Regions from separate parts of the Homo sapiens genome. Here region 1 is linked to region 2. The links are contacts of gene promoters, found by promoter capture Hi-C in blood cells and fetal thymus (Javierre and others, 2016). All regions are on one chromosome and are shown on one strand. The core of a region is centred on a gene start or on the middle of the fragment in contact, and the rest is flanking DNA. Distances in the headings are between cores, read along the strand shown.

Region 1 (5,081 bases), core at 948-3,447, 110 kb after region 2:
AAAATACAAAAATTAGCTGGGTGTGGTGGCAGGCACCTGTAATCCCAGCTACTCGGGAGGCTGAGGTAGGAGAATCGATTGAACCCGGCGGGCACAGTTTGCAGTGAGCCGAGATTGTGGCACTGCATTCCAGCCTGGGTGAAAGAGCAAGACTCTGTATAAAAAAAAAAAAAAAGTAAAGCTCAGATGAAACAAGGCCCAGGAGACACTGGGCTTGACAAGGGAAAGGGACTACTCTCAATTTTGCCCAAAGTTGGTCTTCCTTCAATCACAAATCTCCAGGAGCCCTTATTTGTACGGTCTTGATTCCTGGACAATCAGTGGTTTATTTAAGCTGTGGACAGCCCATAGTTCTGTCTAGTAGAGGCTCCCCAAAATACAGGGGCCCCATCAGTCAGGGCTGTTAAGAAGTTATGAAGCTCGGCTGGGCGCGGTGGCTCACGCCTGTAATCCCAGCACTTTGGGAGGCCGATGTGGGTGGATCACTTAAGGTCAGGAGTTTGAGACCAGCCTGACCAATATGGTGAAACCCTGTCTCTACTGAAAATACAAAAATTAGCCAGGCATGGTGACGTGCGCCTGTAGTCTCAGCTACTCGGGAGGCTGAGACAGGAGAATTGCTTGAACCCGGGAGGCAGAGGTTGCAGTGAACTGAGATCAAGCCACTGCACTCCAGCCCGGGTAACAGAGCGAGACTCCATCTCAAAAAAAAAAAAAAAAAAAATTTATGTAGTTCATCTCAACCTTAGATTGTCCTCCAGCTTCTAATCCCAAAATCCTGGGCCCAGTCTGGACTTTAACCAGGTGACACACATTAGTGCGTCAGTTTCAGTGGGCGTTAACATGGAACTGGACCTGTGCCTGATTCATCCAGGAAGCTGAGCCTAGGCCGCAGAACAAACACCCCTAAGCAGCTTCTGCTAGGCATGGGTGAGAGGCTGTCTGGCCAAACAGTGACTGTGTTTGCTTTGTCTTCTTCCTCTCTCCCACCCCCACTTGCCAGAGTCCCTCATTTCTCTCTGCCCATCACTGGGTCAGGTGCTGTGTGTTTTTTTTATGGATGACTCTAGAAAGTTTTCTCTTTCTCTTTCTCTCTCTCTGTCTTTGGTGGTGAAGGTGATTCTTGAAGAAGAGAAGGCTTTAAAAGGGGCACAGGCCGGGCACGGTGGCTGACGCCTATAATCCCAGCACTTTGGGAGGCCAAGGCGGGCGGATCGCCTGAGGTCGGGAGTTCGAGACCAGCCTGACCAACATGGAGAAACCCCGTCTCTACTAAAAATACAACATTAGCTGGGCATGGTGGTGCATGCCTGTAATCCCAGCTACTCGGGAGGCTGAGGCAGGAGAATCGCTTGAATCCGGGAGATGGAGGTTGCAGTGAGCTGAGATCGTGCCATTGCACTCCAGCCTGGGCAACAAGAGCGAAACTCCATCTCAAAATAAATAAATAAATAAATAAATAAATAAATAAATAAATAAATAAATAAATAAAAGAGGTACAGCAGGAGCTGATATTGGGAGGGGAAATAAAGGGAAGTAAGAACTGGTTTGGATGGGAATTAGAAAAAACAAAAAAGTCAGACATCAGGCCAGGCGCTGTGGCTCATGTCTGTAGTCCCAGCACTTTGGGAGGCTGAGACAGGCGGATTGCTTGAGCCCAGAAGTTCAAGACCAGCCTGGATAACATGGTGAGACCCCTGTCTCTATTTAAAACAAAAGATGTAAGGAAAAAAAAGAAAAAAAATGTCAGAGAAGTTCTGGGCCACCTCCCCCATCCCCTACTCCTCCAAAACACACACACACACACACACCTGTCTATAGTCTAAGCAGGTCCTGCTTTTGTAACCCACCCGGGACAGTCCCTGCAACTCCAGCCTGACCTCACTTCCTGCTTCCATAGCTAGTTTGTTTTTCTGACACTTATTGGTAGACACTCCAGATCATTTCATTTTGCTTCCAGTACCCTTTCCACTTCCTAATACAAATGCAAAACAACCTGGGAATCCCCTTTCAGGGGGAAACAACGGTGCAGCTTTAAGAGAAAGAGAAGGGAGGAAGGGGGCGCTGACTCAGATCCTCAGATCCATTGGCTGCTGGAGGGAATCCCACCTCAGGGATTGGGCGTAACAGAGTCCGCCTCCTCTTGTGATTGGCTCAGCCAGAAAAATAAAAGGCGGCTGTGCCGGCCTCCTCCTCAGTTGGAGGGAGGCAGGGAATCTGGCTTGATTGGCGTGCTGAGACGCACCTGGCGCAACCCTCCCTTCTGAATCGAAGTTCAAGTCCCGCGGACACTGCAACCATGAAGGAGAGACGGGCCCCCCAGCCAGTCGTGGCCAGATGTAAGCTCGTTCTGGTCGGGGACGTGCAGTGTGGGAAGACCGCGATGTTGCAAGTGTTAGCGAAGGATTGCTATCCAGAGGTGAGCTGCCCGCCCGCCCGCTGGCCGGCTTTTCTCCCTGCCTGCCCGCCTTGGGGTAGATTTCCACCTGCTCAGGAGACGTGGCTCCCCCAGCCCCAGCCCATCCTCAGCCGCTTTCTGAGGCTTTACCATCCTCAGCTGCTTTTTGGCTGGAGGACTGCCCTGCCTTAGCTTCCCCTGAGACCTGTTCCACTTCTGCCGCCCCGCTGGCTCCTCCTCACCTCTTCACCCAGAGGACCCATCAGATCCCCTCCACCTTCCTGCGTCCCTGGAGTCTGCTCTCAGGTGAGGGCACTGGAGGCATTTGAAAGTCTGGGGTTTCTTCTTGACGTAATCCCTGCCTATCCGCTCACCTGCTCCTCAAAGGCTCTATGCCTGTGCCTTCAGGCAGGCTTCTGCAGCCCCTCTGTTCACCTGGCCGGGAGGGGTTTGAGAGGAGATGAGCTAGGATTGGCTTTGGCCTGTGGCTCTCTCAAATTGGGAAACACAAATCTGGGGATGGGAGGAATCTGTGTGTGTGTGTGTCCCTGATCGCCTAGGATATGGGGGGCTTACCCCTGGTGTGGTGGTGTGGGGGGGTGTCATTCACATTTCTCACTGCTGCAGAGCAAAGTGCCTGGTCCTCCACAGTCCCTTCCCTCCTGCCCCAGGCATCTCCTCTGGTTTCTTGTCTCCTGTGACTTTACTGTCTCTCTGGTGAGTGCGTGTGTAGCCAGCACTAACCAGGGGATCTGAGGGTAGGGGTGCATGGGGTGAATGTTTCCTCTCTTTTCACAGACCTATGTGCCCACCGTGTTCGAAAATTACACAGCCTGTTTGGAGACAGAGGAACAGAGGGTGGAGCTTAGTCTCTGGGATACCTCAGGTAAGAATTCTGCTCCAAATACCCCTTTCCCACCCCTACTGGTCTGCTGTGTAGCTGCTGTCTTTTAGAAATTGTTTTCCCCTTTGGTGGGGAGAAGTGAAAAAAGAGGATCTGAAGACTCATTAGTTGTGGGGAGGGCTGACAGTTGGTGGACTCAGTTGCATGGTCCAAGGGTGCAGAGTGGGTGAACCCCAGGAGCCACTCTCTTCCCTGGGTCTGGTTCCACCCTTTAGAGGGCTGGGATGGTGAGGTGAAGGGACCCATGAATAGTCCTGGGGGTGGGCAGTAAAACAGGACTTCTCCATTTCCATTCCCTACCACCCAACATGCACGCGTACACACATGCACACACACGCGCGCGCGCGCACACACACACACACACACACACACACACACACCTTTTACTTCCCCAGAGCAAAGCCAAATAAGAGGCAAGAGGCAGTGCTGCTGGAGGCAGCGTGGTTGGGGCGGAGAGACAAGTCTGCTTTGGGGAAAGGTTGCTCAGACTCAGTTTTGTCTCCTGCATTCCATCTTGGGCCACTGCTGTCCTCCTGCCGCAGCTCAGCCCCACTCGTCACACCGCTGCAGCTCGGGGATGAAGCAATGCATCATCGATGTTTTGGAAGTTGGGGGAGATGGCTTAATATAGGGCATAGTCAGTTGTGAATAGTGGCCGGCAGGGCAGAGGGGAGGTTGGCTCTGACTGTTTTCCCTCTACTGGGGTGAGGTAGAATATGCCCTGTCTCTCTAGAATGTAGAAACAATGTTTTTCCAGCCTCTCAGCCCCAAGCCCTTAGTGCTAGGCTATCCTTTGCCTTGATTCTGACCCCTTCCCATTATCTCTTTACCCCAGACCTTTTTCAATAGACTGGCTCAGAGTCATAATTAAGGAGTAAAAGCCGGGAATAAGAGAAAGAAAATAAAATCCACCCCTCCCCAAAAATGCATATTCAGGCTGAGTTTAAAAAGGGACCGTAAATCACTAGGTGTTTCCTGCTACATATAATAAATATGCTGTCCTGCTCCTTCAACAGCTGTTGTTCCCATGCTCTAATTCTGAGGTCTGAAAAGATTGGGGCTAGGGAATGGTTAGACAGACAATGAGCCTTTCCTCCCCAAACAAAAATTCCCCAATCTGGTATGCTTTTCCCTGTTGCAGTTTCAGGGCTTGGGAGGCAGCGTTCTGGTTCTCCTGGGCTGTGCTATGCTGGCAAGATTGGGCTAGAATGCAGCTTGATGGCATGATGTATAATTTTTGGTTTTTCATCTGCTGTACCCTCCCACCTTCCAATCTTCCCAGAATCTTACTGCAGCTCATCTCTTTTCACTACCACCGCCCAAACGCCCTCCCCCCACCTCCTCCCTCCTTTGACAGTCAGAATGCAGCCCTCAAATCCCAAACCAGATCATGGAAAATCAGCAAGTGTAGTCTCTGTTCCCTGTGTCACACCCCCACCCCCAATTTCCGAAAGGATAAAGGCTGTCAGTTATTCTCAAACTCCCTCTTTCAGATTAGGTTCCCATAAGGAAGGAGGAAGTGGCCATGGTGTGTGGGATAGGGTTTCCCAATGTTGGGCTCAGGGTTGACCCTGTTCCCATTATTTACTTGCTAGTCTTAGGGGAGGGGGATTGCTTGGAGCCAAAATGGAGGCCTCCTCCCCTCCCCCTTCCCCAGTGCTGCAGTGCTTCCGCTCCTCAGTGCTGCAGTGGTAAGACCCCACCTCAGAAAGGGATGGAGGAGGCTTGCTGAAGGAGCAGGCAGCTATCCCAACTCCCCTGTATTCCTTTTTTTAATGA
Region 2 (5,089 bases), core at 1,226-3,725:
AGCTGAGCTCACCGCCACGGGCGCATCCATCCCTCCTGGGCCTATAATTTGGGTTCCCCGGGTCTGGCCTCCCCTATCAGCGGCTCAGCAACAGATGAGTCACCCGGGACCCCGGGCCAAGGCAAACATGGGGGGAGGAGGAGGAGGAGGCTTCTGAGGCTTTAGCCACCGCCTCAGTTGCTCGACATCCCCCAATCTCCAGGGGCCCCCACTCTTTTCTTTGACCCCCGCCCTCCAGGGCCCCAGTGTTCTTCCCACATTGCTCTCGTTACACCCTCCATCCCTAGGATGGGAAGGGCAGCCCTCCACTCTTCTCATTGAGGGGAAGGGGAACCAGCTTGCTCCTAGTCCCTCCCTGCAGTGATGAAAGCCCCCCACTTTCCCCCTCCTGTCATTGGCCCTGACCCACGTCAAGGTCTCTCTGGTTCCCGTCCCTCCCCTTTCTTGGAGCTGGCCGCGTGCTTGGGGTATTAGGCAATGGGTGTGCACCCACAGCCCTCTCCAGGCCCCGCCTGTCCCACCGCCCTCTAGCCGCCTGCGGGTCAGTGCTCAGGCCAGCCGGTCGGGCTGAGGGCACTGCGGGCCAGCTCAGGCCACCCAGTCTGCCGGCCTGTGGCCTCTTGTCCCAGAGTTGGGCTTCAGTAGAGAGAAGGAGCAGGACTCTGGGTCCTTGGATTTGGAACAGTCCTGCTTGGGGAGACCTAGGGTCACCAGGAAGTTGAAACCTATTGTAGTAGTTCTGCCCCTCGCCCCTTCTTGGCACCTGGCTGTATGCTGGAGCCTGACAAGGGTAGAATCAGAAGGCAAAAAATAATCCCAAACCTAAGGGGGACCCAGAGACACATGGAGAAATACAAATGTCCATGAGGTCCCCATGGAGAAGAGAGGCTTAGGCAACCTCATTCCCCTCTTCCAAGGACCTGGCAGGAATCCCAGGGTGACTGCAAGAAAAAGGATAAGGACACTGGTGGGGATCATGAATCCAGGTGTAAGGATGAAAACTATGAGATGGGGCTTGCAGATTCTGGTGACCTCCAAAACCACACATGGTTTGGCTCTTGTCCTCTAAATGGGAAGGAGGGTCAGGAACTCTAGTGCTCCCACTTCCCCATCCCAGAGGTAGGGAATCAGAGAAAAGCAGTCTGGTCCAGGCTGTCCAGTGTCAGGGACCATGGCACTTTCACCTCCCCAGACTGCTCACAGCCTGGCACGTAAAGGTGATCTGTAAATATCCCAACAGATGTAAGTTTGCTCGATCTCCTGTCTCAGACTGCTGTGCCCGCTATCCAACAGTGACCCCTGCAGCACGGGCAGGACCTCCAGCAGCACAGACTGGAGGCTGGCTGCCCAGCAGAGCTGCAACGCCACCACCAAGGAAGAGGTGACTGTGGTTGTGGGTATCATCCCTGTTCCTCTGCTTGCTTGGGGGCAGTCTGAGTCAATGTGCCTGGGGCGCGTGGGGCCAGCCGTGCCTTGGGCTGCGGTCTGGCAGGGGCGGGGGGCGGCTGGAAAGCCTGGGGCCCCTCTCTGGCAAAAATAGCCCACAGTGGTTAGAGCTTCGAGGGTGAGTCAGGCGGGAGCACGGTGGCGCCTAACCCGTTCGCTGCCACTGGGTCTCCCTAAGGCGGTTTGCCTTTGCCTGTGCACCCCAAGACCAGGCTCTTTCCCGGCTGCCCTTGGGCTTGGCTCAATTTTGGATCCCAAGGCCCTCCTCATCCCATAAGAAGCAAGTCTACAGCTTGGAGCAGGAATCCAGGCCACCCAAAGTGCAGACCGGGGGAATCCCGAGAAGGGTAGGATACCTCTGTTGGCAAGCATCCCTGCCAGGCAAGGAAGCATCGGGGCAGGCTGACAATCTTTGGTGCTACTTGAACCTCTGCTAGGGCCAAACTCTGAGGCCAAAGCTGTCCCCTCCAAAGGGGCAGGCGCAGGGCTTGGAGGAGGGTGGGAACCAAGCTGCCCAGACGTGTGCTTCTCCTGCCCGCTCTGAGTACCCCGGGTGCGCTCAGGCTGTGGGTGCCACATGTGACTGTCCCACACCGAGAAGCCCAAAGACTGTCTGGCTCCATCCTCATCTTGTCAAAGGCACCTTCCAGCCACCCTGATCTTGGTGGAGAAACTGACGCAAAGAGGAGTGATGAAAGATGTGGCCATCTGGGCCCCATTCTGGCTCCCTAGGAAGGTTACTACACCCTCCCTGCAGCCTTGGCGACCCCAGATCAGGTGAGAGGAACTCTGGCCACCTCCTTCTTCAGTGGGGCCAAGCCTGAACCCAGGCGTCGGGGGAGAGGGTGTGTGAGAGAGAGAGAGTGTGTGTGTGTGTGTGTGTGTGTGTGTGTGTGTGTGCGCGCGCGCGCGCGCGCGCGCGCGCTGGGAGGAGGGGGAGGCTGCATTCGCCTGGTCAAGGCTGGGAGTGGAGGGTAGGGTGGGGAAGCCCCAGGCTCGGGGAGGGGCTGCAGCTCCGTCAGCCCGGCAGAGCCACCCTGAGCTCGGTGAGAGCAAAGCCAGAGCCCCCAGTCCTTTGCTCGCCGGCTTGCTAGCTCTCTCGATCACTCCCTCCCTTCCTCCCTCCCTTCCTCCCGGCGGCCGCGGCGGCGCTGGGGAAGCGGTGAAGAGGAGTGGCCCGGCCCTGGAAGAATGCGGCTCTGACAAGGGGACAGAACCCAGCGCAGTCTCCCCACGGTTTAAGCAGCACTAGTGAAGCCCAGGCAACCCAACCGTGCCTGTCTCGGACCCCGCACCCAAACCACTGGAGGTAATTAGACCTGGGAAAGCAGGGAGGGCAGGGACGTGCACACGAGGAAGAGACAGGCACGTGTGTAGTCAGACAGACAGACAGACACGCATCCACCCACAGAAGCACAGAGACGCATAGAGAGCCAGAGATATTGCTAGAGATAAAGACACAGAGAATAAAGGAGTGCCCCCAGATTTAGAATGCAATGAATGTGAGAGCCAAGGGGTGAGGACCAGACGGGCGACTATGGAGGAGGGGAGCTTGTAGTTAGGCAAGGTGGGGGATAGGGAAGAGGACTCAGTCTGTGCCACGGTCCCTTTTAGGAGGGAGCCAGGCTCTCCTCCCCATCTTTCCTGCACCTGGAGCCTCTCCTCTTTCCTTGCTGCTCAGGGAGGGGGCAGTGTGAGTGGGGAACTCATTCTTAGACCTTTCTCATGGAGCCTACTTGCCCTTGATGACACCTGGAGGTGACACCCCCTTAGGTGGTGGGGAACCTCCTCCCTATCCCTCTCCCTAGCCCTGTGAGGGCGGGGAAGCTAGTCGTGGGGCCCTGGAAAAGGGAGCAGTAGGCGAGGTTGTGGAGCAAGTGTTTGTGAGTCTGTGTGTCTGAGTTTGCAAGTGAGTGTGTGTCTGTGTGCCGGGCGTTGTGTCTGATTGGGCAAGGTTCCAGGGGTGCTCGCTTGAGTCCTGAGCTGGGACAACGCCTTGACTCTTCTTCTTTAAGACCTCCAAGCCTCAGGGACTCTGGGAATCAAGGGGTGTTTCTTCTTGTTTTGTTTGAGGAGGAATGAGAAGGGTCAGTAGGGTGGCACCGGTGGGTTAGGAGCCCGAAGAAGGGCGTCACTTGGTTCCCCAAGCGAGCCGCCCTATTCCTGAACCCGCATCAAGTCTCCCGTCCCGCAGGTCCTGATCGATCTGCCCACCGGAGCCTCCGGGCTTCGACATGCTGGAGGAGCCCCGGCCGCGGCCTCCGCCCTCGGGCCTCGCGGGTCTCCTGTTCCTGGCGTTGTGCAGTCGGTGAGCAGTTCCCCTTGTCTCCCAGGCCATAGAAACACCGACCCGGGGTGGGGAGAGTTGGAGGGGTCTGGACCGCAGACCCCAGACGCCTTCTTGGTTCCCAGGGCTCTAAGCAATGAGATTCTGGGCCTGAAGTTGCCTGGCGAGCCGCCGCTGACGGCCAACACCGTGTGCTTGACGCTGTCCGGCCTGAGCAAGCGGCAGCTAGGCCTGTGCCTGCGCAACCCCGACGTGACGGCGTCCGCGCTTCAGGGTCTGCACATCGCGGTCCACGAGTGTCAGCACCAGCTGCGCGACCAGCGCTGGAACTGCTCCGCGCTTGAGGGCGGCGGCCGCCTGCCGCACCACAGCGCCATCCTCAAGCGCGGTGAGCCTGGCTGGGCGGGTCGGCGCTGCCGCGGAGGCTAGGGGGTGGGCGGCAGGGCGAGGCGCGCGGAGGCGGGAAGGGATGGTTTCGCGGCTCCGGGAGGGGCCTCTCCTGGAATTCCCCGCCCCCCCCGGAGCCGCTCTGAGCCAGGTCTGGCCACTCGTCTGGGCCCCTGCGCGCCTAACTTCCACCTGCGTGCTGCCAGCGAGGCAGCTGGGTCCCTGCTCTCCTACCCTAGGGCCCCCCTTTCCTGCCTCCGCTCAGCTTAATCTGGGTTGCACCTGTGAACAAGAGATGCCCCCAGTCCTGGAAGCTTCAAACGCCCCCCTATTCCCTCCACCATTTTCTCTCCCCCCATCTTGGCTGGACAAGCCCAGGCTGGTGTCCCCAGTGTCTCAGCGGGGGTGGGGTGACGCCCCCAACCGTTTAAGGGTTAAATCTGCTCCCCTAATTGCTGGGGTTCCCAGGAGCCAAAGCTGGGAACAAAGACCCTGATGACTTTGAAGCTGGGGAGCCAGTCCCCTCCTCTGTGCTGTGGGGGCTCCAGGTGTTGCTCACCTGAGCAGGTGAAGAACGGCTGGAGAGGCAGAGAACAGGTCACTGCTGGCCTGGTCTGGGAGGCATGGCTGCCTCTCCTGGTTTCCCACTGGAGTTCACTCCCTGAGGTGTAAAGACCCATGGGGGCTCAGCCCAGAGATGGGGGCAGTGCTCTGGGGACTATGGGGTTAATAGGCAGCTGCCATCTGCAGGGGAATTCCCAAGACTTGTGCAAACAGCTTCACCCCTGGAGGGTTGGAGTTAGGGGGATCAGAAGGCTGGCCCAGGAGCCCTAGATCCTGGGGTAGCAGAGGCCTGGTCTCTAAGCGGGTGCTGTCTCTCGTCTTCTCAGGGCTCCGGAGAGCCCCTGCCTAAAATGAAGTGAGGGTCCCCCTCCTTCCCCACAGGGCCTGGTGTAGGGGAAGGCTTGG

The links. The method cuts DNA at HindIII sites, captures the fragments that hold promoters and counts their contacts. A CHiCAGO score of 5 or more calls a contact.
Region 1: the fragment with the promoter of RND1 here is called in contact with the fragment with the promoter of WNT10B in region 2 in 8 of 17 cell types (activated CD4 T cells, M0 macrophages, erythroblasts and 5 more); the score reaches 8.5 in activated CD4 T cells.

The regions. Positions count from the first base shown.
Region 1 is chr12:48,862,986-48,868,066 of GRCh38, reverse strand. It overlaps RND1 (Rho family GTPase 1), which reads left to right and starts at 2,197. Exons shown (of 5, transcript NM_014470.4): 1 at 2,197-2,419; 2 at 3,197-3,284. The coding sequence starts at 2,300. RefSeq lists enhancers at 1,874-2,003, 2,264-2,383. The HindIII fragment of the contact is 16,374 bases long and covers 1-5,081 here.
Region 2 is chr12:48,969,121-48,974,209 of GRCh38, reverse strand. WNT10B (Wnt family member 10B) reads left to right here and starts at 2,475. Exons shown (of 5, transcript NM_003394.4): 1 at 2,475-2,755; 2 at 3,641-3,754; 3 at 3,859-4,121. The coding sequence starts at 3,681. RefSeq lists silencers at 2,410-2,704, 4,172-4,251. The HindIII fragment of the contact is 10,147 bases long and covers 1-4,436 here.